Linked DNA regions of Homo sapiens: regions 1, 2, 4, 5, 6 and 7 are each linked to region 3. The links are contacts of gene promoters, found by promoter capture Hi-C in blood cells and fetal thymus (Javierre and others, 2016). All regions are on one chromosome and are shown on one strand. Each heading gives the region's core, a stretch centred on a gene start or on the middle of the fragment in contact. The rest is flanking DNA. Distances are from core to core; before and after follow the strand shown.

What was found. The method cuts DNA at HindIII sites, captures the fragments that hold promoters and counts their contacts. A CHiCAGO score of 5 or more calls a contact.
Region 1: the fragment with the promoter of SLC35B4 here is called in contact with the fragment with the promoter of WDR91 in region 3 in 4 of 17 cell types (naive CD8 T cells, total B cells, total CD4 T cells and 1 more); the score reaches 9.4 in naive CD8 T cells.
Region 2: a fragment that was not itself captured here is called in contact with the fragment with the promoter of WDR91 in region 3 in 2 of 17 cell types (total CD8 T cells and neutrophils); the score reaches 5.5 in total CD8 T cells.
Region 4: a contact is called between a fragment that was not itself captured here and the fragment with the promoter of WDR91 in region 3, in 7 of 17 cell types (megakaryocytes, naive CD4 T cells, activated CD4 T cells and 4 more). The highest score is 7.0, in megakaryocytes.
Region 5: a fragment that was not itself captured here is called in contact with the fragment with the promoter of WDR91 in region 3 in 9 of 17 cell types (naive CD4 T cells, activated CD4 T cells, monocytes and 6 more); the score reaches 9.0 in naive CD4 T cells.
Region 6: a contact is called between a fragment that was not itself captured here and the fragment with the promoter of WDR91 in region 3, in 6 of 17 cell types (monocytes, activated CD4 T cells, naive CD4 T cells and 3 more). The highest score is 8.1, in monocytes.
Region 7: the fragment with the promoter of AKR1B15 here is called in contact with the fragment with the promoter of WDR91 in region 3 in 12 of 17 cell types (naive CD4 T cells, M0 macrophages, endothelial precursors and 9 more); the score reaches 13.1 in naive CD4 T cells.

What each region holds. Positions count from the first base shown.
Region 1 is chr7:134,315,634-134,319,495 of GRCh38, forward strand. It overlaps SLC35B4 (solute carrier family 35 member B4), which reads right to left and starts at 1,297. Exons shown (of 10, transcript NM_032826.5): 1 at 1,042-1,297. The coding sequence starts at 1,118. RefSeq lists a silencer at 838-1,007 and an enhancer at 1,088-1,817. The HindIII fragment of the contact is 10,331 bases long and covers 1-3,862 here.
Region 2 is chr7:134,657,953-134,661,961 of GRCh38, forward strand. BPGM (bisphosphoglycerate mutase) reads left to right here. Exons shown (of 3, transcript NM_001724.5): 2 at 3,495-4,009. The coding sequence starts at 3,556. All of the region lies in intron 1 of LOC124901750 (a long non-coding RNA gene), which reads right to left. Among named protein-coding and RNA genes, the nearest start is that of BPGM, 13 kb to the left of the region's middle. The HindIII fragment of the contact is 2,528 bases long and covers 1,496-4,009 here.
Region 3 is chr7:135,209,021-135,213,216 of GRCh38, forward strand. It overlaps WDR91 (WD repeat domain 91), which reads right to left and starts at 2,506. Exons shown (of 15, transcript NM_014149.4): 1 at 2,360-2,506; 2 at 556-735. The coding sequence starts at 2,482. RefSeq lists an enhancer at 1-1,038 and a silencer at 2,209-2,748. The HindIII fragment of the contact is 4,223 bases long and covers 802-4,196 here.
Region 4 is chr7:134,685,200-134,689,353 of GRCh38, forward strand. The region is part of intron 1 of LOC124901750 (a long non-coding RNA gene); the gene reads right to left. Among named protein-coding and RNA genes, the nearest start is that of BPGM, 40 kb to the left of the region's middle. The HindIII fragment of the contact is 5,670 bases long and covers 1-4,154 here.
Region 5 is chr7:134,618,844-134,622,507 of GRCh38, forward strand. LOC124901750 (a long non-coding RNA gene) reads right to left here. Exons shown (of 2, transcript XR_007060537.1): 2 at 244-1,105. Among named protein-coding and RNA genes, the nearest start is that of BPGM, 26 kb to the right of the region's middle. The HindIII fragment of the contact is 944 bases long and covers 1,136-2,079 here.
Region 6 is chr7:134,448,512-134,452,584 of GRCh38, forward strand. It overlaps AKR1B1 (aldo-keto reductase family 1 member B), which reads right to left. Exons shown (of 10, transcript NM_001628.4): 2 at 3,075-3,242; 3 at 2,275-2,391; 4 at 1,209-1,286; 5 at 486-608. Among named protein-coding and RNA genes, the nearest start is that of AKR1B1, 8.6 kb to the right of the region's middle. RefSeq lists an enhancer at 1-843. The HindIII fragment of the contact is 5,053 bases long and covers 47-4,073 here.
Region 7 is chr7:134,546,861-134,550,613 of GRCh38, forward strand. AKR1B15 (aldo-keto reductase family 1 member B15) reads left to right here and starts at 2,250. Exons shown (of 12, transcript NM_001080538.3): 1 at 2,250-2,389. LOC105375520 (a long non-coding RNA gene) reads right to left here. Exons shown (of 3, transcript XR_928005.3): 3 at 497-3,753. RefSeq lists an enhancer at 2,261-2,320. The HindIII fragment of the contact is 2,317 bases long and covers 1,360-3,676 here.

The sequences.
Region 1 (3,862 bases), core at 47-2,546, 890 kb before region 3:
CCCAAATCCAAAAAAAAAACAAAAAACAAAAAACACCAAATAACACCCGTTCCCAAGCATTTCAAATGAAGGATACTCAACTTGTAATGTATAGATTCAGAAACACGAGCTAGAGAACACTATAGGTATTGTTTTACTGCCAGGAAAAGGAGCCCAAGAGAGGCTAAGTGACTTGAAGGGCTACACAGCCAGTGGACGACGGAGCCAAGAGTGAAATTCACAACCCAGCTTTTTAGTCCTGGAGGCTTTTCCACACCACCTGTTGTCTCTTCTGTTATAGCTTCTATCCACTGAACTTTGCACATTCAAAGTGACCTCAAAGAGCCCTCTCAGGTCACTTGGACCAATCTTCTACTTGCTTTTTTTTTTGTCTTTTTGCAAGCCACCTCAAAGAGCACTCTCGGGTCACGTGGACTGATCTTCTACATAAAAATCTGTTCTACCGCATCATTTATGTATGTTTGGGCAAAGTACTCATAACCATTTCCAAGGCCAATAAAGCAAATGCTTTGCAGGATGCCGTAATAAAAATAAAACTTTCTTTGCAGTATGTACAAAGTCAGACTGCTTTACAAGTCAAAAACCTTTGCTCAAGTCCAGCCTGTGCCATTTAACAGGATCGAAAAAAGAGCTAGAGTTGGATGGGAAGGAAGAGAGAGTGGTTTGGTGAAGGAACCTTGGTTCTGACACTAGCTCTCTGCCGACCTTGGACTGGTCATGTGAAAAACTCTTCAGACTTCAATACCCCCCGAGTGTGGAAAAGGGGTGACGACAGCAACACCCTGAGTCTTCCCCTCGCAGGAATGCTTTGAAACTGTTAGGCGGGACTGCCGCCGGTGCGCAGTTTTGGGAAGCAGCGGACTCAGCGGGGTCCCAGGCTGCCCAGACAGGACGGATTGCTGGGGGGCTCAGGCCGTCCTGCCCCGGGCTCCGTGGGCGGCGGGGTGGGGACAGGGCGTGGGCGCGTCCCGGGGGGACCTCTCCTCTGGCTTCCTCCGCCCCGCCCCGGGAGACCGGGTGCGGCCCGAGCGGGTCACTCACCGGGCCAGGAGCTCTAGGAAGATCACGTTACTGCAGCAGCCTGCGAACACCAGGCCCACCGCCAAGGCCGGGCGCATGGCCGGTGCAGGGTTGGGGAAGCAAGCGCACAGAGTAAGCGCCCGCCTGTACCGCTACCCCAGGAAGCCGGCCTCCTGCCTCTTCGCTGCGCAGCACATCGCACCGTCCTGGAAAGCCGCTCTCACTGGGGGCCGCCGCGGTCTCCCCTTCTCCCGCGGCCAACACCGACGCTGCCAAGAAGCTGTAGTTCGCAGTCAGCTTCGGTCCCATTCATCCGAGGGGGCGTCCGAGCCCCGGCCAGACTACATGTCCCAGGATGCCGTGCACCTTTACCTCAGGATGCGACGTTCCCGCTTCCGCCAGGCAGCTCCGCCAGAGAGGACAGGGGGACGAGGTGCCCGGCATGACTCGCGCGATAGGCGGCCGCGGGTCTTGCTGGGAAATGAAGTCCCAAAGCGTCAGTGTTTCTTGCGAGACCGCCCAGAGCGCTGAAAGTAACTCGGCCGCCAGGGTCACAACAAACTTGCTGGCAGCGGCGGCACTAGAACTACAGAGCTGTGACTGCTCGTTGGAGGTGTTCTAGCATCTGAAACAACTCTGCTTCCTGAACTGATATATATATATGTATCTTTGGTGACTCTATTATGCTGCCAGGATTAAGAACCACTGAGAATTCAAGTAAAGCAATGGCTCTCAACCACGTCTGTACATTGGAATCACTTGGAGAGCTTTAAAGATGACTGATAGCCAAGTCCCACCCCCAGCGATTCTGATTTAATTAGGCTGAGGTGCAGCCTTAAAGGTGATCTATTGATATTATCCCTAATCCTAGCTCTTTAAGGTACTCCCTTCCTTTACCTCCGTGGTTCTCAAACTTAGCTGCGCAGTCAAATCACCTGGGGGCTTTGAAAACTGCCAACGTCCAGGCTCTTCTACTGGCAAAAATGCCAATATCAGCAATCAGATCTTTAATGGTGAAAAGAAGGCATACTTCCCTCTTCTTACAGTGGAATTCTCATAGCACTTACAATCTGAGCCATTCGACTTGACTCTTACTTACTCAATGAACAAATGTTTGTTAAGCACATATTACGTACATAAGCTAGTGCGGCACTATTCTTTATTTGTAAAATAGGTATGCACACTTTATCCACCCAGCAAGACTAGTTTTTAAGGGAAACGTGTTTACACTTCCTTTCTGCTTCCCAGTGTCTACTATAAAAGGTTAGCATCACTGCTCAGTATTTTACCACATCAAATATTTCCGTTGTAATTGAATCCAACAGCAATAGCAAAGTACACGGTACAAAGCTAGGTAGGATTTTGGAATGCTATATTGTTTTTGCTATTTCCTGTGAGACACGAACATTCTGAAGTCTTTCTCGAGATCTACAAAATAGTTTGGAATGCTTTTTTCCCAGTCCGTGACTGGGAGATCACATTGGAATCATCTGAAGTACTCGTTATCGAGTGCAGATTATTGGGTCTCGCTTTAGACCTACCAAGTCAAAATCCTTGTGTATGGGTTCTAGAAACTTGTATTTTTAACAAGCACTCCACGTTCTAATTCTAATGCATTCTAGAATTTGAGAACTGCTGCCTTAAAAAGGTGAGTAGGAAGAAGAACTAACATAAATAGAAAGCCTACTACCTGTGAAATTCAGTATTTAATGAGCACCCGTCTTGAGTTTGCACAGTGCTGGCACATTAAACAATGAATTATATATACATATATACACGTATATATACCAGTTATATTCATATACACATATATACACACACACATATATATATATATATAACTGGTATATATACAGGTATATAATAGTACCAGTTCTACCTCAGACCAAGTAAAGTGGACTATCTGGGAGTGAGGCTGAAGCAATGATAATATCTCCACCTCCACTATCAATAATCCTGCCAACAGGAAGCTGGTCTGGATTTTCATCTGGATTTCATTAGAGGTGATTTCTCTTCACACAGACCTTCATTTTCCATATATGCCACTAATTTGGAAGCCCTTAAAGGATGTTCTAAACATTTCTCATTACATCTCAGATAAAAACCCAAGCATGTCTAAGTGATTGCACAAGAAAAAAATGGCCTGAGTACTGTAATATTTGCAAGAGTTCTGTATCTTTCTTCCTTCCTCCACATTTCTGTCTTCACCTACTGCAGTGAGTATTAATTTAATGTGCATGTTAATCACTTGGGGATCTTGTTAAAATGCAGATTCTGATTCACTAGGCCTGCAGCATGGCCTGAGATTCTGCATTTCTAAGTAGCTCCCAGGTGATGCTGGTGCTACTGACCTGTTGACTGCACTTGGAGAGCAGAAGCCTGTAAAATCATTAACTCTGAAGACCTCTCTATCCTCCCCTCTCATTTGCTCAGAGAACTCTTGCTAGCAAACCTGTTCTCAGACCAAAATCATGCTCAAAGAAACTAACTTATCTTTCTTCCTCCCTCATTTTACCATCAACTCTCTTTAAAGAGTAATCTACATTCGTAGTCTCTACTTGTTAAATCTCCAATCAGCTTCTTAAACTACTCTGATCAATGCCAGGGTATTAAAAGCAGTCCTGTTGAGAGCCGTGATGACTTCTTAATTGTGAAAACCATATAACACAGTCTCACCTTACTTGATCTGGCAGTGGCTTTTTACAATGAAAACCCAATATTTCTTGACATTCTCTTGTCCCTCTGTTTATAAGACATGAGTCTCCTGTTTCTCTTTTGACTTCTCTGACTTACGCTTTCCAGTTTCCTTAATGGGCTCTCCTCCTCTGACCACTGGGTTCTC
Region 2 (4,009 bases), core at 1,510-4,009, 550 kb before region 3:
GCCTAGGGGAGGTTTCCCTTTAAGTCAGAGGTCATAAGCTAGCAGCCACGATCTAGCCTGCAGAAGAAATGTTTTGTTTCACTCACATTTTACAAATATACATTAGTTGCTAATATTTAAATCAGATATCAGATAAAAATACACGTTTTCATTTTTTTTTTAATTGGAAGATCTAGAAACCTCAGTTGCTCAGTATCACAGGGCAATGGGCTGGAGCTAAGTAGTAGGTACTCCTTTGATTTTTTACATGAATTTTTAGGAGGTTTTGAAATGATTGTTTTAGCTTTTTTAAAAAAGACATTTATTTACTCAAAGTTTCTCTGTGGTCTGACTCTAAGTCTTGCATTCATCCTAGTCTTCGATGTCAGCAATCCCATCTTCTTTTTGTTTTCCAGAAAAGTTCTAAGAACAGTGCTGTTGGCTCAGTGAGATGAGGTTATCGGAAAACTTTCTGTTTACACAAGAGTTGCCTCCTTCAAAGAAGCATGCATGGTCCTTGCAGGTCACTGTGCCCATCACTCTGCATAGTCCAGCTGCACTCTGCTTCACACAGCTGCCTGCCCATTGCAGGCATTTGAGTTTGCAATCCATGCCTTAAACTTTAAATCACACTGGCTACAGCGTTGTGTGTTTCTTGGTAAACACTGGGTAAATCAGCTCCTGTGGATGTTGACTGAAGTTTCTATGTTTGCAAGCTAATCCTCAGCAGTTTCTTTGTAAGTATCCAGCAGTTAAGTGGGAAAAGTCCGTTGATAGTACTAGGGAGGAGAGAGGAAAGTGACCTTTTGTTTTCTTGAGATAGACATACTAGTTTAGTACTTTATCATGTATTCACCTGCGTAAATGTATTCCTGTGCTTCAGAGTGAGGGAAGGATGCATATTTGCATAGTTTTTGTGACTGCAGTACTGTTCCTCTGTTCTGGTGTGTGTGTGTGTGTATTTTTTTTTTAGTAAAAAGAAAACAGAACTTTGTTTTAATGCAGTAAGCAAATATAGGAGAATAAGATACCACAAAGCTTGGTGGTGGGTGCCTGAGTGTCCATGTTGCTATTACTACATTGTTTTGTCCCCTTGATATAGTTTATAATCAAAAGATGGTGGAAAGGTGCTTCTGTCTACAAAATTTGTCTAACCATGCCCTTCTTTAACTGAAGAGAGAATGGCTTCATTAGCTTATGGAGGTTTCTCACTTGACAAGATAAACTGAGGGTGAAGGTAGAGGAACAGTTGATAGCTTCTTTTTTCTCCATCCCCCTCCTCCACTACCAATAACAAAACAAAATGATCAATGGTTACAAAGGGTAGATACAGTTTTTGATGGAGCTGAGGCTTCTACTACTTGGTGGATTGGGGCTTTGTAAAGAAACACTGCAAAAATATCTTCCATTTGCAAATTAACACACTTACACACACCCCTCCGTGTGTGTGTGTGTGTGTGTGTGTGTGTGTGTGTGTGTGTTCATCACCTGGTTTCTCACAGGTGAGGGGCTCTGAAGCTTGAACTTTGTTAGATTCATGACTATTCTGCCCCTGGGCACAGGCAGTCATCTGGCAAAACACTGCCTAGATACCTTTTGTTCCCTTCTCTGTTCTGCCACCCTGATGCCTCTTCTAGGCTAAGGACAGAGACATTGGGCTTCCTCCTTGGGAATTCTCAGCTCTGTGGGATGCTTTAATCTGGGTCCTGAGCCCAGGCTCTTCTGGTTCCCTGGCACTTCCCTGCTGCACATGCACAGCAACCTGGTACTTAACAAGAAAGGAAAATCATCATCCTAACTGCTGTAGCCTTTCAACTTCAGTCATGCACCACCTAATGATGTTTCAGTCAAGCATGGATCGTGTAAATGATGGTGGCCCTGTAAGATGGTAATGGAGCATATATAGACATCTGATATGTGGCACTTGACATTGGCATTGCAGATCGAGTAGGGGAAATGACTGATATTCAGTAATTGTGCTGGGATACTTGGCTTTCCATATGAAAAAACATAAGTAACAATATGTATACCATCTAGGTTTGTGTAAGTACATTCTATGTTGTTTGCACGACAAAATCACCTAATGATGCATTTGCCAGGACATATTCCCTTCATTAAGCAACACATGACGATACTTGCAAATCACCTCAATTTGATTTCTTTCCTTAAGTCCTCTGTTTGCCTTCCATTGAAATATAAAGCCTTATTTTAAAGACTGTTTTCCCTTCAGAATCTCTAGGAATTACTAAAGAAAGGTAGAAACTAGATCTAGATTCCAATCAATTTTGCCATTGATTGTTATTTTACTGTGGGTGACTCACAGTTTAAGTGGGAGAGAAAATCTCCAGTTAATGGAAGTTGCCAAGAGTGGCAGAAGACCAGGCTGTAGTGCTCGTATAATCTTTACAACCCAGTGTGCAAAACACTGGAGGAGAGATGGAGAGGCCGGGCGTGTAAACCAAGCATGTGTCAGTGCAGATGTGTCCACCACAAGGAGAGAGAGAGGCGGGCTGAGCAGCCATGTCAGCAGATTCTCCGAGGATGGAGTGGGCCCAGCAGATCTTCAGGCCAGCAGCTTAAATGTAAGGAGTTCAGCATAGCTTGAGAGTTGCTGGTCTCCCTTTACTAGATTCTCCCCCTGCTAAGACGTAGCTGGTGTGTGTAGGATATCTGGAGGGCTGGGGAGGAGGAGGTGGGGCCTCTTTATCAGTGTGGTTCCTCTCACTCCTGCCTACCAGATCTGTTTGTACAGGCAGCATCCCTCAGCTGCTTGCATTTGATAGCTTATTTTGCATCTGGATTTATTCCTGCTGAAAACTCTATCTTGAGGTAGGTGCAAGATTATTTAGGTACGTACCATATTTGGTGTTAATGTCTCTTTAAAGCACTTTTAATTTGTCTGAATGTTGAACTGATGTGTTTTGCATACCTTAGATTTTCTTGTGTGTTGTAGCCTGTGGCATTGAAGAGCTAGTTGCCACCAGCCAGTGATACATATCAGATATATGCAGTGGTGCATTGAAATAACATGTTTAATAACTTCTATAATAAGAATGTGAGACTGGTAAATACTTCTTTTTCCACCACAGGAAAACAAAGTGAAAAGGATGCCTTCAGTGTAGAGTCAGCTGCTGGGAGCTGGGAGTTCCCAGCCACTAGTCATTCTTTCAGACGTCTGTAACTCATTCTATTAAATCCTTTCTACTGTAAGCATAAATTGCCTTTGTATCTGGCAGAAACACAGCATGCCATTAGAATGAAGTGTTTTGTTATTTTATGTCATGCAATTAACATGCTATCCAAACATCAGAAAATTTAAGTCAACTAGATTCCCTGTAATGAATTATTAATATCTATAGAATATGCCTGTATGTGTCACAGTGTATGAGTTATCACATTTCTGACTGTTCAAAGGGATTTCAGTTTCTTTTAGAAATTGGGTGTTGTAAAGCGATGTTTCTATTCCTAGATTGTCAGTTGAATATAACTTAGACTTGTTGTTCTTGTCTTTCTAGATGTATTGCTGTCCTTGAATATTAGCCCATTTGAAAACGCCTGGGAAGTTCAGCCATCAGTATGTCCAAGTACAAACTTATTATGTTAAGACATGGAGAGGGTGCTTGGAATAAGGAGAACCGTTTTTGTAGCTGGGTGGATCAGAAACTCAACAGCGAAGGAATGGAGGAAGCTCGGAACTGTGGGAAGCAACTCAAAGCGTTAAACTTTGAGTTTGATCTTGTATTCACATCTGTCCTTAATCGGTCCATTCACACAGCCTGGCTGATCCTGGAAGAGCTAGGCCAGGAATGGGTGCCTGTGGAAAGCTCCTGGCGTCTAAATGAGCGTCACTATGGGGCCTTGATCGGTCTCAACAGGGAGCAGATGGCTTTGAATCATGGTGAAGAACAAGTGAGGCTCTGGAGAAGAAGCTACAATGTAACCCCGCCTCCCATTGAGGAGTCTCATCCTTACTACCAAGAAATCTACAACGACCGGAGGTATAAAGTATGCGATGTGCCCTTGGATCAAC
Region 3 (4,196 bases), core at 1,256-3,755:
CAAGGAGGGAGGAGAGACAGAAATCCAGAGGTAAGACTCTTCATCATTGCACAGCAGACAACCTTTGACTATCAGCCTGCCAGGTAAGTGGCAAAATAAAATTCCATAATATAAAGGAAATCATCACTCTTTTCTCAAGGAACTTGTCATTTCAAAGCTGGTTTAAGCTGAAGTTCTAATGATAAATCCCATCCTAAAAATTAATCCCTAGCTGATGTTCAAATAACTAAGTGACTCATTCCTCCAGGTCAGCTATCATCTTTATTACTCAAACTTTAACCCAGCTACTTATATTCTTTAAAATACCACCTTTGTTTTAAGCTTACATGCTTAACATAAAAAAGGAAATAGGAATGGGGAAGACAAGTCAGATGATCTACAGATGACGACAAGGAAAAAAAAGAAGAAAAACAGTCAAAAATAATTGCACTGTAACTGCTGCACTCTTTCCCATAGTCACATACAGATTCCTCCCTAGGAACTGGAAGAAAATCTATTTTGGGATCAAAGAGCTCCTTCCACCAAGGGAAGCAGAACCCCTGAATCAACAGGCACCTGGATTGTGTAGACAAGATAAAATCGAAACAGGCTGGTTTTCAGCTTGTGGATTGTGGGTCTGTATATATCCTCCAAGCGGCTGAAGAGCCGACGCTCCAAGTAGCTCCAATAATCCCGAAGGGCAGCCAAGTCATACACCTGCATTAACTGCTGCAGCTGGTCCACAATCTTATCCACCTGGCGAGAAACATGGATGGAGAAGGTGGTAAGGGACAGAAGGGAATTCTCCCCTCCATGGAATAAAGCTTTTTCCTCTTGTCATGGCTTCTGGGTGTAAAAAAAAATTTGTAAGTTAGCAATCTATAAAATTTTCAAAACATACTAATGCAACGGTTTTTCAGTAATTTTCTGATGTTAGAGAAGTGGTTTGACCCTCTAGCAAGCACGGAAATTTCAGGTGTAAAAGGGCTCTGGCCCAGAACCTAAGAGATCTGGCTCCAGATCTTGGATCTGCCTCTGACTTACTTGATCAATTTGGCAGTGTCATCAGGCCAGGCACCGTGGCTCACGCCTGTAATCCCAGCATTTTGGGAGGCTGAGGTGGATGGATCACCTGAGGTCAGGAGTTCGAGACCAGCCTTGCCAACATGGTGAAACCCCGACTCTACTAAAAATACAAAAATTAGCTGGACGTGGTGGCACGCGCCTGTAATCCCAGCTACTCGGGAGGCTGAGGCAGGAGAATCGCTTGAACCCAGAAGGCAGAGGTTGCAGTGAGCTGAGATCGTGCCACTGCACTCCAGCCTAAGCGACAGAGTGAGACTTTCTGTCAAAAAAGAAAAAAAAATGGCAGTGTTGCTTAACTGTAGTTTCAGTTACCTCACATTTTTAAAAAAGGGGGTGGGGTGAAGAAGAGCTATGAGACAATCTCCACAATTCCCAGATCCCAAGGATCATGAGGAGGTGCATGGACTGACTCCTTCAAGTCATCAAAGTTCCACGAAGCCGTGGTAGCTGCTCAGAGTGTCAGCCAAGGAAGTCACCTTCTTGTGAGGAGCAATTACAGCAGAGTACAGAATCTGGAAAAGGGTTTGGATATCAATACCAATCCAATGCCCCTAGTTTATAGATCAGGCCACTGAAGCCCAGAGGGGTGAAATGATTTGCTTTTGCCACTAAGTAGCCACTAACTTTGGCCAGGCAGGAAACCAGATCTCCTAACTCCCCTCCAGTGCTCTTGCTGTTAGCTCACTGCCTCTCATTGAAGTCAGTACACACAAACATACAAATCACACACATATACATTCCAAGAACCTCGCAATGGAAAATCATTTTAGAGCAGGGGAAGTTTGGGTTTCTCTAATGTGCCATGAGGTCTTCCACAACTGCAGAAGCAAAATTGCCGATGAGTCCCTGACGAGGCCATTTTAAACAAACACCGCAGATACTTGAACGCAGCTAACGTTTTGGACTGCAGACTTCTTTGCTTCCACTGCCACTGGAAGCCAACACGAATATCTGTTGCCAAAACGCAACCATCTACCTAACCTCGGCTCCTAAAACCTCATCGCCATCCTGGCCAAGGAGGCTGGAGTGGAGACAGAACCCTAGACCAGGAGCCGGGGCATCGGGGCTCCAGCCTCGGCGATGCTCCTGACTCGGGGGGCGGCTTCAGGCAGGTCCTGTCCGTCTGAGGGTCTCAGTTCCTCATCCGTCAAGCTGGGGTCGGACGCGCTGAGGTCTCCGGCGCCCCGGCGCGAGTGACAGCGCCGCTCTCGCCCCGGAGGCAGTGCTGGGGGGAAGCCCGCTCCCCGGCTCCCTCGGGCCGCCTCTGCCCGCGCCGCTCCCGCCGGCCTCTCACCCGGAACCCCTTCTCCTTGTCCGCCTTGATCTCGGCGTCCAGCTGCCGCAGTGTGTGCGTGAACCCGCGGAAGAGCAGGTACTCCCGGACCAGCTCGTCAGTGCGCTCCACGGCCTCCGCCATCGCAGCGCTAGCGTCTTTAGGGGTGGTGCGGTGAGGGACGGAGGGGCGGGGCCTGGGAGAAATGGGGCGGGGCCGGACGCGGGCGCCGAGCACGTCACGCCGCGACAGGCCTACCAGCCCGCACGCACTGGGCGACCAGCCTGAGGCCCCGCCCCTCGGCCGGCTCCCCGCCCGAGGCCCCGCCCCTGAGCCAGCCCCAGCCCGCCTGGCCGCTCGAGTCACCCTTACCCCTCCCGAGGAGTGGCGAGGGGAGGTCCTGGCGGCGCCGGCGGCGGCTTTGTCTGAATTACTGAAAGTGGCGGCTGCCACCCACGTCAAACAAGACTGGATCTTAAGAACATCCCAGGTAGTCCCGAGGCGGGCAGGGGGTGCGGCGCCCTGTTGGTTGGCGTTACATCGCAGAGCTCCCGGTCCCCTGCCCTCCTCCTACACGGAGGAAGCTGGAGCCCTAAGAGCAGAGTGACCTGCGTGAAGCCACAACACGCGTGTCCTCAGAGAGCGCTAACTCCCCCAAATCTCTGCTTTCATTAGTAAGACGAATTGGCTACACAGCAAGATAACCAAGATGCACTGCTAGGATAGGCAAATTTCATAGCAGTGTATGTACGCTATAGTCCTGGTTTCTTGTGAAAAAAAAATTAGGTATGTATGTGTGTACATTTTTTAAATTCAGGAAGATTATACACCAAGTTCCTATGCAGTCGGGTCTCTGCATCCTCGGGTTCCGCATTCACGGATTCAACCAACGAGGATTGAAAATATTTTTTCCAAAGTTTTAAAAATAAAAAATAGCCGGGCGCAGTGGCTCACACTTGTAATCCTAACATTTTGGGAGGCCAGGGTAGGCGGATCTCTTGGCCCCAGGAGTTGGAGACCAGCCTGGACAACATGACGAAACCACATCTCCACAAAAAAAAAAAAAAAAAAAAAATGCGGAGCGCAGTGGCTCACGCCTGCAATCCCAGCACTTTGGGAGGCCGAGGTGGGCGGATCACCTGAGGTCGGGAGTTTGAGACCAGCCTGACCAACATGGAGAAACCCCGTCTCTACTAAAAATACAAGATTAGCCGGGCGTTGTGGCGCATGCCTGTAATCCCAGCTACTCGGGAGGCTGAAGCAGGAGAATCGCTTGAACCCAGAAGGTGGAGGTTGCAGTGAGCCGAAATCGCGCCATTGCATACCAGCCTGGGCAACAAGAGCGAAACTCTGTCTCAAAAAAAAAAAAAAAAAAAAATTAGCCGGGCGTGGTGGTGCTGCCTGTGGTCCCAGCTACTTGGGAGGCTGAGGCAGGAGGATCACTTGAGCCCAGGAGGTCGAGGCTGCAGTGAGCTGTGATTGTACCACTGCACTCCAGCCTGGGTGACAGAGCAGGACACCGTCTCAGTTTAAAAAAGAATACAATTTTTAAAAACACAAATTAAATATAGCATAACAACAATTTACATAACATGTACAATGTATTCAGTATTATAAGCAATGTAGAGATTATTTAAAGTATACAGGAGGAAGTGTATAGGTTAGATGCAAATACTAGGCCTTTTTACATCAGGGCATCCATGGATTTTGGTCTTCTAGGGAGGGTCCTAAAACCAACCCCCTGCAGATACCAAGTGACAATTGGAGTGGTTTTATCTGAGAGGTGAGACTATGAAGGACTTCTTGTTTTTTACTTTCTTTTTATTGTTGAAGTTTTTACAAGGTGCACGTATTTTTG
Region 4 (4,154 bases), core at 1,313-3,812, 520 kb before region 3:
AAGGAGTATATTCTAAAACGATAAGAAAAAGTATAGTATAGTAAATACAAAAAACACTATCATTTATTATCATTTTCAGGTATTACATACTGTACATCCTTGTATGTGCTATACTTTTGTATGACTGGCAGTGCAGTAGGTTTGTTTACACCAGCATCACCACAAACACATGAGTAATGGCTCATGCTAGGACCTTAGGATGGCTATAAGTCACTGCACAACAGGAATTTTTCAGCCCCATTATAATCTTACATCGTATATGCAGTCCGCTGTTGACCAAAACAGCACATGACTGAGGCACATGACTGTACAGTAAATGTCATAGCTGATGAATTGAGGAAATGATTTGTAATGTTGTATTATTCTACTATCATCTCAGCATTTCTGTAGGTTTGAAATTTTTTTAAAAAACTAGAAAAAATAAAGTGACAGAGGAAAAAATTGGTAAGTTTAACAATGTTGTGTTTAGTATAGTCATTAAAACATGTCTTATTCAGAGTGAGGTGCCTGGTTTTTTTGACTTTTTATTCTTGAAACCTCAGTCTTTGTTAAGTAAGAGAAAGATAAGAGAAAGCCTTCTTCTTTTCTTCTTTTTTTTTTCTGTCTTTTGAGACAGGGTCTTGCTTTGTCGCCCAGGCTGGAGTGCAATGGTGTGATCTTGGTTCACTGCGACCTCTGCCCCCCCAGGTTCAAGCAATTCTTGTGCCTCAGCCTCCCGAGTAGCTGGGATTACAGGTGCCCGCCACCATGCTTGGCTAATCTTTGTATTTTTATTAGAGATGGAGTTTCACCATGTTGACCAGGCTGGTCTCAAACTCCTGACCTCAAGTGATTCGCCCGCCTCAGCCTCCCAAAGTGCTGGGATTACAGGCATGAGCCACCACACCTGGCCCAAGAGAAAGACTTCTTAAGTCTGTATTATCTTGTCAAGAAACAAATTGTATACTTATTTTATTTCTATTATCTTTGAGGCTACAGCTTGCATCAGACCAGCAATGAGCTTGTGTGCTGAAACAACAAATCTGAAACACGATTATGACTGCCATCACCTTGCAGTTAACCAATAGTAATGGAATTCCTTTCTGGATCACGAGGTCAAGAGTTCAAGACTAGCCTGACCAACATGGTGAGACCCTGTCTCTACTAAAAATACAAAAATTAGCTGGGCGTGGTGGCACGTGCCTGTAATCCCAGCTACTCAGGAGGCTGAGGCAGGAGAATCACTTGAACCCGGGAGATGGAGGTTGCAGTGAGCCAAGATCACGCCACTGAACTCCTGTCTGGGCAACAGAGTGAAACTCCATCACAAAAAAAAAAAAAAAAAAAAAATTCTCGTGAACTTAACCCTAACCACACAGTATTGAAGAGGGAATGTCTGCCCAACCACACTGCTTTGTATCTGCCTGAGAGGAAAATTCTCTGGATGTCGTGTTGAACTGGATGGGGAATCAGACAGAGCTGGAGTTTGTATTAGTCAGATTAATTGCATAAAATCTACCCTTAGTGGGAAGACTCTTAGGAGTAATTGAACCTAGACCTTGACATATGTAACCTCTGAAGCAGAGGGGCAAAGGCCAACACATAGCTCTGCAACACAATTGAGGCTATGTAATCCATCCCGACACTCATTCTGTAGAATACTCATTAGAATTCTCCAGACCTAAGGCCGCTGGCCATAGGTTAGCTAGTCAGTATTTTTATCTCTGAGGATGCCTGCTAGGATCCTGGGATTGGATTGCAGGGAATGTTACTTGTAGCTGGAATTCCAGGTACTCTCCCAGGAGTCTTGGTATTTTATATCGTTTTTAAAATCTTTGTTTCTGTACGTAGACACTGGGGGTCAGTATTTATTCATAAATGCCTCTGGATATTTATGACAAAAGATTGTTTCTAAAGAGGCTTGGAATTCCTTCCTCGGTGCGACTTCTTTCCCTGATTATTAACTATAGAGTTTACCCTATGTAACCATAAAATGTAAATATAAACATCATAGATGTCCATGGATCAGAATATGGGAAAGGGGCAGGCAGTTTTCCATCTAAAATACGAATGAATACCAAGTACTCGTTTGTTTCTAGACACTTGTTTGGCAATGTTGGTCCCACCAGTGCACCCAGATGTCTAGCCAGCATCTTGACAATCACCCTTGACTTTTCTTCTTCTGATGGTTATGAAGTCCTGCTGATTCCGTCACCTCTTACCTTGCAAATTCATCCCCTCTCCATCCCCACTGTTCTGCCTTGAGTTAAGCCCTCATCTTTTCTCTTTCAACATTTCAGCAGCCTTCTAGCTGATCCCCTTGCTTCCGCTTTTACTCTCCTCTAGTCCTCTCCAGACAGTCGTCAGGGTAATTCTTCAGACCTTCAGAGGTCCAGCACCCCTCCTAGGCTCTGCCTTTGCACCCGCTGTCCCCTTGGCCTTGAACTACCCTCCATCACCCACCCCACCTTGCCCTCTTTTCATTGCCTGCCTAATATCTGCTCATCTTTCAGGGTTCGTAACAGTCTCCTGTGGAGCCCTGTGATCGACTCTTGCTGGATCTGGCTTGTTCACTTGTCTGTTCGCTTCACTGGCAGGAGAACTGAATGGATTTAAGTCTGGGTGCCAGCCAAAGTCATGCAAACTTAAACTCCAGAATTCCCTAGAATTATCCACTTGGGGGGCCAAACTGCCCACTGTTTTAGATTTGTTCTTTAAAATATTTCTCGCAGCTGGGTTTTTGTTTTCTTTTTTTCTTCCTATTTTTTTTTTTCTTTTGGAGACAGAGTTTCACACTTGTCGCCCAGACTGGAGTGCAATGGCACAATGGCACGATCTCAGGTAACGGCACCCTCCACCTCCCAGGTTCAAGTGATTCTCCTGCCTCAGCCTCCCAAGTAACTGGGGTTACAGGCACGCACCACCATGCCCAGCTAATTTTTTGTATTTTTAGTAGAGACAGGGTTTCACCATGTCGGCCAGGCTGGTCTCGAACTCCTGACCTCAGGTGATCCACCCGCCTCGGCCTCCCAAAGTGCTGGGATTACAGGTGTAAACCACTGTGCCTGGCCTAAAATATTTCTCCTGGCTGGCATTTGATCTGACCTGTCTGTTCTCTGCGGCTGTCTTCCTACCATGCCAATACATGGAAGCAGAGGTGGAAATCCTACCACTGCCGGACAGGAAGGCAGGTGAGGCTAAGTAGCCTGTCAGCACCGAGCCCTTCTCCATAGGCAGCTGCTATAATGGTACAGAAACAGGTTACTTATGGAGTTGCAACCTGTTTTTAACCTGTAATTATAGAGTTAAATATAACCATATAAACATCTTGAAAATAAGTGGGAAAGATTCCCTAATGTTCCCATCCTAAGAACTATTTTATTTCTTTCTTTCTATATGCATGTTTCACTTAGACATATTCTTGATTTATATTCATATTTTATTCTTGTCTTTATCATAAGGATTTCTCCATGTTGTATAGACTTCAAACAATTTTACTCCATGGCTGAACACTGTTGCATCATTTGGATAGAACTTAAATGTCCAACAGGAAAAAAAAATTAGGTGCTTTCAATGTTTTGCTGTAAGTAATGTCTAAATATTTAAAAACTCAACCAAGCTAATAAACTGCTATATAAAATATGTTTTGTATATTTTTTATGCCTTGAAAAATATACCTTTATAACAAAAAGTACTTTAAAATATATAAAGCCATTTTATATGACTAAAAGCCACCACGCATCATCAAGGATGGTGATGACAGTCTTCTCTGAAAAGGTTTCATATATATTGAACTTTGAATGATTTTGTGTGTGTTTGCGTAAGTGTGTGTGTGTACCTGTACATGCGCTCCAGGCTGAAGAAGTAACAAGTGCAATAGTCCTGAGACAGAAGAGAGTGTTTAGGCAACAGATAATAGGTAAGGTCAGTGTAACCTGAACAACTTGAAGAAGGTGTTTAGGCAACAGACAACAGCTAAGGTCAGTAGTGAAGGCTGAAGTGGTGTAGGATGGGATTGGGGAGGTAGGCAGAAGCCAAATTGAGCCATGGTAGGGTGAACGGAAGACAGGAAAGGTCTTCCAAGCCAAAGAGTAGCCCAGTAGCCCATGCCCTCATTGCCACTGAAGAGCTTCTGCCATCTGAGCATGTAATCTCTCCAAGACAACATTTACGTT
Region 5 (3,664 bases), core at 358-2,857, 590 kb before region 3:
CGTGTCCCAGGAAAAAAAAAAAGAAAAAAAGAAAGAGTTTGCAAATATTTTGTTTCCCAGGAAGTCATAATACCCTTATGATTCAGTCAGCCTGATTCTGCAGTCCTGAAATCTCGGCTTGCAGCAGATGTGTGCTGAGAAGGCTGTGCTTACAGAGAGCAGCCTCCCAGATCCCTGTATGCCCTGATTCCTGGCTTGTCTCATCTGGAATAAAAAGAAGTAACAACCAACACTGCACTTTGATGCTTTTATTCATTTGCTGCTTTTATTCATCTGTTCTCCACCTCAAGTGCCCTCACCCCACTTGGGGAGTCCTGGCTTATCCTTCAAGACTTGCCCAAATGCCTTCTGCCCTGTGAAGTCCTCCTTGAAACTGAAGAAGCAATTATTCTTCCTTCTACGTTCCCACAGAACTCTGCACCTCTATTAAAGGACTTATTAAATTCTATTACAGCTTAGTTTTTATGTAACTGTCTTCCCTGAAACACTCCAGAGGTGGCATCATGACTTACTCATGTCTGAATCACCAGCACTTAATCTAGAACCTAGCTCAATAGTTTTCATATAAATTAAGAAAAGCAATACCTTAGAAAATCTCTAGTAGCCAAATTCAAAGTTTCTCTAAAGTGTACAACTGCTATGATTTAACTTCCTCTATTTTGGATTTCAAGCCACTAGAATTTGGAACAGGAACAAAGTAGTGCAGAAATTATTGTGTACTATGTGAGCAGAGTTCAGTGCAAAATTATGGAGGTATGTAAGTGTTTGTAGCTTTGGCATTATGGTCAGGGGAAACTTCTTTCCTTCAGAGGAAAAGGGCAGTGTCATCCCTGGGATCACAAGCTTCTTGAACATGTGGAAGGTGGGTTCTTCCTATTTTGGATTTCAGCTCAGCAAAGGCTTTCCTGAATTAATCACTGAAGAAGCACACGGCACCATATTTCCTTCATCTGGTCACTGCAGAAAGCAAAAATGTTTATACCAGATGGTGCTCAATGTGATGTCATCATTCCATGGTTTATCCAAATTCCCTCTTTCATCATGTTTTGCTTGGAGTTACACCTGGAGTTTTATGTATCTGCAAATATTCAGAATGAATTCTCAGCTGTGGAAGAAAAAAATAGATGATGCTCTAAGCTTATGTGTAAATATCCTTTGTAGAAAAGATGAAACATTTCAATGAATAAAAGCTGAGGGCAAAAGGAAGGTTTGAGTAGGTAAGTGGTGTATGTTCCCATGGGAACAAGCAGCTGCTGCCAACAAATGCATGAGAAAAGGCTATAGAGTCTTTCTATGATTCAGGCTAAAACTAAATTTGTAAAGGAGTCGAAACACACATGAATCATCCCCTCTTGTCCACTGTGATCATGACTATCTCCAAGTCAAAAGCTAGCCAAGAATCACAATGAAGACTAGCCTGTTGTGACAACTGAAGTTGTTTGCACTAAATATCTCCACCAAGGAATTCCAACAGCTTCTAACATCTACCACATAACAATTTAGATTAATTGGCCTATTAAGACCCTCATAATCTGGCACCATGATCTCTATCCCATCTAATTTCTGACCACTTTCCTATATGGGCTAAGGTGGTCTCACTATTCCCTGAACATTCTTGTTCATTCTTAACTCCAAAACCTTTCTCATATACTTTCTCTGTCTTCTAGCACTGTTTCCTTCTTCTTCATCTATTCAAACCAATTTATTCTTAAATTCCAGTGCTAGGATTATCTGATCTGTGAGGTTTGTCATGATTGCAAATCATACTGTTTCTCCCTGCTCTGGATTTCTGTACTGTCCCTCAAGAACTGGAGGTGCAAGCTAATGTTTCTATTGATGTCAATCATCATTAATGGACACTCTTTGGTTCACACACTGTGCTAGCAGCATAATGGACATTTCCTGTTGTTCTGCTCCCTATTTTCTTTGCTGTTCCTTTGTTTCAAACCATTTAAAATAGTTTTTTTCCCCTTCCTCCCGATGATCAATATAACTAAGGGCTTTTTGTTCCTCTTCAATCCTATATAAGGAAAATATTTTCCTCCCCTTCTTAAGATAGGAAAGAATTGGTGGATACTAAGCTTGGTGAAATCTGTTGGAATCTTCAACTTTAACCCCTTCCAAATTGAGGGGCTCAAATAAACCTTAGTTAAAGCACAAATTAGTTACTAATTAGGGAGCTCCTGTACAGATAAGGGAGTATTAGTTTTGGACCATTTGGCCACTTTTTTGGATATCCAGATTGTAGAATTACCAACAGGCATACTCATTGGTGTGTACTGAGTCTCAGACAGGATTCAGAATGAGAGTAATTCTTTTGGGATCTGAACCTTGCAGGAAAATAAAAATAGACAAAGCTTGATTAGGGTCTCAAAGTCTGGCAATACCAGTTTAACCATGAACAGATAATGAAATCTTCATAATAACATTTGATTGGTATCTAAAACCCCAAAATGCCTCTATTTCTAGGGCAATACTATCTCTACATTTTAAAAAAGTTTCTGGATGCCAAGATATTTAGCTTGATTTTATTTATTTATTTTTTATTTCAACAGGTTTTTGGAAAACAGGTGGTATTTGATTACATGGATAAGTTATTTAGTGATGATTTCTGAGATTTTTGTACACCCATCACCTGAGTAGTGTACACTGTAAAGTCACTCTTGTTCACTTACGAAGAATGAGAAGAAAAACTCTGAAACAAAAATTCTCCTGCCTTTAATTGAACAAACTGTAGCCCACTCTAGAATGACTTTTCTGTAGCTGGCCCACTGTGGTAGAGTACTTTCAAAAATATTCACTCCTTCCCCCTTTTACCTCCACAAGGGAAATATCCTTCCCCAAATCCTTGACTTTGGGTTTGGCTGCATGGCTTGCCTTGGCAGATGTGACAGAAATAGGGGGTTGAAATGTGCTTGAGTGGTTGGGCCTGGCCTCTTGCACCCCTATCATTGCAACGAGAAGAGTGTGTCTTGACTAGTCATTGCAACGAGAAGAGTGTGTCTTGACTAGTCACTGGTCCAAGGCACATGAAGAAGATGAAGCAGAGCCACCCAGCTGACCTGCAGCTCTGTGAGATTAAATGATTGCTATTTTAAGATACCGAGTTTTGGGGTGGTTTGTGACACAGAATTTTTGTGGCAATAGCTGATACACATCCCAATAGCTCCACAAACGGTCATTATCTTCCCAAGTTCTGTTTCTGTCCCCAGAAAATATCATTCTTGACCGAAAAAATGCAAATATAATATTTTCCTATGGGCTTCTAACTCAAACGGCATAGGGTGTTTCAGAAAAATGTTCCTATTTAATTAGTTCAGTTTGTTTTTATTCCTGACATCATGCTTCCCTCTAAGTACTGTGAGTGCACAGAGGGAAATGTGAGTCTGTGTGCTCAGGTACTTTTTAAATTTCAGGCTTAGGGGAGTCTATGATCCCTAAGTCTGACACTGTCTCATGAACTGTGAAGAACTTGAAGACAGGAGGCTCTATCAGCCTCTCAGCAAGAGAGACAGCACACTCAGCTTTGTTGTGTAGAGGCTTTTTCATAAAGGAAATATTTAGAGGTGTGGTTCGGGTTAGAGGAACTAGCAAGGGATGTTGAGGTGCCCAGACACTAGGAATAGCAGGGAGTTCTGATGATCCCCAGGCCTGAACAGTAGGG
Region 6 (4,073 bases), core at 1,323-3,822, 760 kb before region 3:
GAGCTGATGGGAGCACTGTGGCTACACGCTGATGGGACACAGATGAAGCTTCCTATGCTAAAGTCCCTCCCTACCCCATACAGAAAACTATGTATAACAAACACCCTATTTCCCAGATAAGCTGTAACTTCCTACAGTTCCCAGGTAGTATCCTTGGTGTTATTATTATCTTATTATAGATGTTCTCATGGGCCCTAGAGGCTTTTCTTGGCTTTAGCCACTTATCAACTATCACAGTTCTGAGGATCTCATGGCTGCCTCTTTGTCAGACCCCAAATCGTCACAAGCCAGGCTCAAACTCTTTCTTTCCTGTAAGTTTCCTCTCCCAGATGTGCTGTGTCATGCTGAATCATAACTCAGGACTCTGCCAACACCCAGGAGCTGCCTCCTGGCCACTTGCTGGGTGAGGTGGACGAGAAATCCCTACCAGCATCAGACAGTAAAACAGCAACGTTGCAATGCCAGTGTCGTTGGGGGATGTTTACCTGGTTAACTGCAGGCTTATACTTCAAGCCAGGTTTGTTTAAGATCATCTCCACCTGGAGATGGTTGAAGTTGGAGATGCCAATAGCTTTCACCAGCCCTTCATCCACCAGCTCTTCCATGGCCTACAGAGAAAAGTGTCTGTGTGGTGCAGAAACGAACCCAGAAAGGACAGGATCAGAAGTGTCGTTTGCACCAGTTTAACGGGTCCTGCCCTCACTCTTCAGTGCCAGTGAATTAGACCTTTCAGAAGCTAAGAGACAGTGAGACGAAAGCCAGGCTGGCTTTAATGAGATAAGAAGAGCAAACAGGCCGGGCGCGGTGGCTCACGCCTGTAATCCCAGCACTTTGGGAGGCTGAGGCGGGCGGATCACGAGGTCAGGAGATCAAGACCATCCTGGCTAACACGGTGAAACCCCGTCTCTACTAAAAATACAAAAAAATTAGCCGGGCGTGGTGGCGGGCACCTGTAGTCCCAGCTACTCAGGAGGCTGAGGCAGGAGAATGGCGTGAACCCAGGAGGTGGAGCTTGCAGTGAGCCGAGATTGTGCCACTGCACTCCAGCCTGGGCAACAGAGGGAGACCCCAACTCAAAAAAAAAAAAAGAGAGAGCAAACAACAGGGACAGAATAACAAAATGCAATGTGAGAAATGGCAGGCAGATTGCTTCTAAGAAGAAGAGGGAACCAGTCACGAAAACAAGGTCCAACCAGGGGCTGTCTTACCGCCCACGTGTCCAGAATGTTGGTGTCACTGGGAACCACATTGCCCGACTCATCCAATGGGAAAAATTCCTTCCCAGGCTGTCATTACAATAAAAAACAAACAAACAAAACAATCAGTAATAGTCCTTCACAGACCTGCTGGGGGAAGCTGGCATCTAAAACAATTCTAAACCACCACAGCTGGCTAGGGATAATCTGTGTGCCACTATGAAAAGGAAATAGGCAGATAGCCAACACTTCTTTATCAAACGGGCTGGAGCTGAGACTGTCAGACGGAGACATGGACACTACTTGGTCACAGAGACTAGCCCCGCCACTGACTGCAATGTGTGGATACAGGAAGGACTCAAGACCAGGACTCACAGGGCCCAAGGCCTGGCGGGTCACTGGCCTATAAAACTACCACCTGGCCCAGCCTCCCCAGCTTACCCCTAAAATCAAAAGATAAAAGTCAAGTCCCTTCAGCCCTGATATGCTGTGGTGCAATAAAACAGGGCTACGGGATAAAGCTAAACCCACACTTTGAACCTGGCTCACAGCAGAAAACTGAGGCAGTGGCTAGAAAAAAGGCAAAAGACAAAGTAACTCTCAAGTTCTTCTTGTGCCAACAACTAGACTGCAAATAGTTACCGGGCCTCCACAGGACAGGGTATGCATGTAGAACGTGGGTAGGGACTCATGTGTATGGGGGTTGGTGTGTGCACGTGCCTGGAGGGGAGGGCCAGGGCTGACCGTGCCTCATGGCTGTGTGCACTACAGACAGCAGCTGTGTTTGCTGACAGTTTTAAATTGCACATCTACCAACTGGCAAAGAGCAGTGCTCCTCAAACTTTGAAGAAGTGTGCGTATGAGTCACTGCTGGTGCGGATTCAAATGGCCTGCGTGGGGCCCGAGACTGTGATTTCTAAGACGCTCCCAGGTGATGCCAGTGCTGATGGTCCACTGGCTATACCTTGAGCAGCAAGAACAGAAAGTCACCCACACGTAATCTGCTAAGGGAGCTCAAAACACACCACAGGTTGCACCTGAGCCCCAAGGGACCTGGTCTGCACCAGGCATCCCATACCTTAAAGCCAGTCGGCCAGTGAATAAGGTAGAGGTCCAGGTAGTCCAGCTTCAGGTCGCTGAGTGTCTTCTGGCAGGCTCCTTTCACCAGGCCCTTCTCATGGTACGTGCACCACAGCTAAGCCAGCGAGAGGGCACATGTCATCATTGCCAGCCACAAGGCAGCTTCCTGGCTGGAAAGACAGAGCAGTCTCCTCTCCCCAAAACCCATTTGCTTTACCATGATGCTGTGAATGGTTGTGAGGGCATTTCCACTGCGTACTGGATCCTAACTTTCCAAAGGCAGGCAGGATGACCAGGTCACAGAGACCTCTTACAAGGACCAGAGGACACAAAATGGAATGGACAGATTGGCTAGCCTGCCCTAGGCCTAAGCAAGAACTCTCGAAACTTTCCCCCCGGGCTGGTGTTTGTGGAGCCAGCCCCATCCTCCTGCCTCATGTCCTTTGTGCATCAGTATCTCAGGTCAAAGACAGTGGCTAGCACTGGAGATTCAGTTTGCAGATGGGAACCAAGTTCCATCCTTGAAAGCGACTCCCTGGAAAGGGAGGGCCAATCCACAACCTCAGCCTCATCAGCACGGGACTCTAAGCAATGGGCCCAGATGGAATGACCATTCAACAGAGAGCCAAGGATGGGCGAGCTCTGGAGCCCTGTATGGCCGTGGGTGATACGTTTCCCCGGGAAGAATCGCCCATCAGTGAAAAGTGTAGCTGTATTGAGTGTGGACTTGGCTTTGGGCTGATGCACCAACAGATGATGGGACCGAGAGCCCCTTCCAGCCCCACCGCGGAACGATACCTTGCTGACGATGAAGAGCTCCTCACGCTTCACCACCTGCTCCCTGAGCTTCTCCTGAATGGCCACCCCCACCTCATTCTCATTCTGGTACACATGGGCACAGTCGATGTGGCGGTACCCGACGTCAATGGCCACCTTCACGGCCTCAGTCACCTGCCCTGGAGGGGACTGAAAGGAGAAAGAACGTGAGCCCCGCAGAATGCAGAGTCTGCACAGCAAGGAGGAGGGGCAGTGGCAGCCACCGATACCTGCTGACCAGCCTGCCACTTTGTTCAGCAAAGACAGACCACGTGCACTTCCTCAGCAGCATTCTGGACTATCAGCCTCAGACGCGGGGGATGGAAGTGAAAGGCCACACAGCATTGCCCTGTAGGAGAATCTGACAGCCACTTAAGTGTAGGTGAGATCACTTTTAAAAGATATGCTGAAGCCATCTCATTTTCTTGCTTCTTCACATCCACTGATTTGCAAACCACTGTATTAAAAACATTTCCCCACACTCTGAATGCTGAGATAGTAAGGGAAACCATTTCCTTCAAATATCTCAAAATATTTCAAAAATAGATGTCCTATGGACCCCAATTCCCATGTGGCTCCCCAGTTCAGCCAGTGAATGCCTGCCCCTTACGCTCTCTTTTCATGCATGGCTTCTGATACCGGCAGTCGCTTGTTTTCAAGCGGTTCTGGGAGATTATCATGAAGTTAAGCACATCACTGATGTTTATTCAAAGGCCCATGTGTCAATTCTCACTGTATGAGGATCTGCTTCAAGGGGTGGAGACACGGGAGATGGCCCCTCAGAGGTATCAGCAGAGAGAAATAAGTTAAAGGGAAACGAGGGGGAATGTGGATCATGGAAGATCACCAAATGGTTAGTGGCTGACCTGGCAAAATGACTGAATGGGTGTCCATGGCCAAGCCACCTGACCATCTGAGTAACCAGAACAGCTGTGGGGAGCCTGGCTACTGAAGAGGAGGAGGAAGTGCCTACATGGCATC
Region 7 (3,753 bases), core at 1,000-3,499, 660 kb before region 3:
GAAGCTTGCAAGACCGCAACAATAAGAGGACCAGGAAATTCTTGTGCATGGAATAAGGTAGGAGACTTGGCGAAGGTGACAAAGTATTTCCCAGGTGGTTGGGATAAGCTGGAGGCTGACAGTGTATGAATGGGACTTAGTATGGTGGTTATGTGGAGTGAGTGAGTCTTCTCTATGGCCTCATGCTGCCATCTGTCAACTAGAGTCAGGAACAGACAGAGTAGACAAAGAGGAAGGGGGAGGGTAGAAATCCAAACAGGTTGGGTTGGAGCCTTTCCCCAAAGCCTCAGTAAGCCTCCAGGAAGGGGGAGGGTAGAAATCTCACAGGAGGGGTTGGGCCTCCTCCCCATAATCCCTAAGATGGGGAACGTTTCAAGTAAGACAGGAAAACTAAAGAGTCTAGAGAGTGATGAATTTCCTTCTGATAGCCCCTTGGGGCTTATGCTAAAGTATTGAAAAAATAATAAGAGAACCAAGTATAAACAAAAACAGCAGATGATAGAATATTGTTGTTTTATTTAAGTTCGAGAACCCATCCTTAAGCCCTCACTTTTCTGGCCAAAATTTAAGTCTAATGAAGAGCGAATTTGTCAGCTGTTAATCAAATATGTTAACAGTAAGAGCCCTGTGTCCCAGGAAAAATCGATTACGCCCTCTGCTGGCGGCAGGGACCAGTTCTCCTTTACCCTTTAGACTCTGGAGGGAGAAAATCAGAAACCAACCTTTCTAAAAAGGAAAGAGTTCCCATGCCTAGACAACCCATACCTACCAAGACATGGGATCCTCTAAATCACCTTCCTTCCTTCAGCGCCCCCAATCCTGCCCCTTTGGTTCCCCTCTCAGGTCCCTCCGGCTGTGGTTTCAGGTTACTCCCCAGCTGTTTCAGGCCACGCCCCAGCCTGTGCTGTCCCTTCAGCTGAGGTTTCAAGTTACTCCCCAGCCGCTTCAGGCCACAACCCACCAAGTTAAAACTATATTAAATCAAAACGCAAGGAGGGAGATTACCAACTCAAAAATTTTAAAATATGAGGCTATCTTTCTGGGAAAAAGGTGATTTAATATTAAGTACTAATAATTCACTTTATTCAGCAGGCTCTTTAACGGGGGATCCAAACGTAAAACGAGAGAGCACGCGTGTTTAAATCGAATTAATTACCATACGAAAGTTCAACCAGACTTAGGAAAAACTCCCTTCAAGACAGGGTGGCACTTATTCATAGATGGAACCTCCCAGGTGATTAAAAGAAAGAGACATAATAGGTATTCAGTGATTAATGGAAAGACTGTTAAAAAAGTAAAATCAGGAAGGGGGTCTAATAATTGGTCTGTCCAAGGGTGTGAACTGTTTGCACTCAGCCAAGCTTTAGGACATTTACAAAACCAAGAAAATCTATCTATACTGACTCTAAGTATCCCTCTGGGGAGGCACACACATTTGGGAAAATTTGGATGGAGAGGGCTCTTATCAATAGTAGAGGCCAAGATTTAGTTCATAGAGAACTGATGCTCGTGTCCTCAACAATCTCCAATTGCCAGAAGAGATAGCTATTGTACATGTCCCAGGGCACCAAAACGACTCGCCTTTCACAAGTCCAGGAAATAATCTTGCAGATCAAATTGTGATACCCTATCTTGTTTTATCCTGATTGACTCTTTCTTAGCTGAGAGAGTCAATAGCTTGGGAGACTCAATTGAGAGTCAATATCGAGAGAGTCAATAGCTGAGAGAGTCTTAGCTTGGTTTCTTCGCTTGCAGCCCCTTGTCCCCCTCCTTAAGGACATAACTGGTGCAAGCTGACTCCAAGCACATCCAAGAATGCGCTTATTGATAAGATACTGAGGCAAGCTGTACCAGCAGCTCCTGGGAGCACACTTGGTTGGTGGTATCCAAAGCCCCTGCTTTTATCACTTTGGGATACTTTAAGCCCCTGCACCTGGAACTGTTTATTTTCCTGTAACTGTTTCTGTAACCATTTATCTTTTAATTTTTTCCTGTTCTGCTTCTGTAAAAAATTGCTTCAGCTAGACTCCCCCTCCCCTCTTTAGGCCAAGGTATAAAAAGAACTCTAGCCTCTTCTTCCGGACCGAGAGAATTTCAAGCTCTAGCTCTTTCTCAGTCGCCAGCAATAAAGGACTCCTGAATTAGTCTCAGAGTGTGGCATTCTCTCTATGACTTGCTCGGTTACGACATTTGGAAGCCCCAGAGAGATTCGCCACCGGGTGAAGACCTGACTCATTCCGGGCTTCCCCAGACAGACAGCTGGCTTACAGGGCCACCTGAAGACGTTCCAGGGCTCCACAGGCCACTGTCTTCTGGAGGGGAACGGATCGACTGCCGGTGCGCCCAGCCAAATTCAACTCCTGAGTCCTCAGTCTCTAGTCCCGGGAAGGTAAGTCAGATCTGACTCTGTCTCTCTGGGAGGGAAACGGCCCTGACGAAGGTCCTCCCTCAGACTCTGTCCATGCTCCAGGACACTGGAGGACAGAGTCCTGGTTTCTGTCAGGATTCTCTGTTAAGTCTAGTCTCTCTCTCTCTCTATCTCTTCTCCCTCTCTCATTCAGGTCTCCGGGAGATCTCTGTTTTAGAATGGGTATAAAAATTGTAATAAACTCTGAGTGAGTGAGTGAGTGAGTGAATGTGGAGTTCAAGGGCTTGCGCTTGAATTTCCAGTTTGTAGCTCCAGGGTGAAAGCTAGGGAATTCGAGAAGGCCCTCACCTGTGGTTCCGTGGTGACCTCATAAGGCTTAGGGCGGCATCAGGCATAGCTCGATCCAAGCCAGGGGTTTATACCAGCCTGCCAATGCCAAGAGGAGCCTAAGTCCCCGAAAGGGGAGCAGCCAGGAGGGCATCTGACTGATCCCATCACGGGACCCCCTCCCCTTGTCTGTCTATAAAAATTGCCATGCTTGTTTATATACCCCAGTGCCTATTGTCCTGTTTAGTGTCTGTCTAAATTTCATATGTCGGATCGTCGATACTGCCCAAAATGACTGGGCAAGGACTTCTTCAAGGTCCTTAGTACAGATTTTCTATCCCAGGAGGTCAAATTCCTCATTAGTCGGTTGGGCTGGCCATCCCAGTCCTGCCTTTCCTGTCAGAAACAAATTAGGTGTTGTTATGGGGAAGGGTGTGGAAGACATTCACCCGTTTAGGATTTCTGGCACCATAAAGATTGCTGGCGTTTGGATTGCCATACCCCACGCCCCAACGACTGGTCCACCTTCTCCTTAGACCAGTGGTGGATCCAAAATAGCCACCCTGCTGACCTCCTTACTCACCTTTTCTGTCATCCCATAACTTTTCCCATGCCCTTAAATAAGGCACTGTGCAGAGAAACCTACACCCATACTGCTCTACTCTGTCTGGACTCTTATTTTACCTCTTTTGGCTACTCTCCAACCTTTAGGGAAATCCAAGTGGCCCCTTTCCTCCTCATCCCCATCCCTTACCCTGCACATCTCATTTTCCTGTGTTGCAGCAAGTCCAGCGTCTCTAAGACTTGGCTGTGTTCTCCCTCCTTAAACCCGTGAAGGAAAGGACCGAGTTTGAACATTTTGCTTTCGAGTCGTGGAGACACCAAAGTTATTTGGGATATAAGTCAAGAAGGGGGGGTCACCTAAGTCCCACTGGCTGAGGATCCCTTGGACCCACCTCTTATCCTCTCCATAGATCTCGAAGCTTGAGGAGACAGACCTTATGTGGCAAGAAATATTGGCTATAGTTGTTTTCCTACTTCTTCTAGCTATAATACTT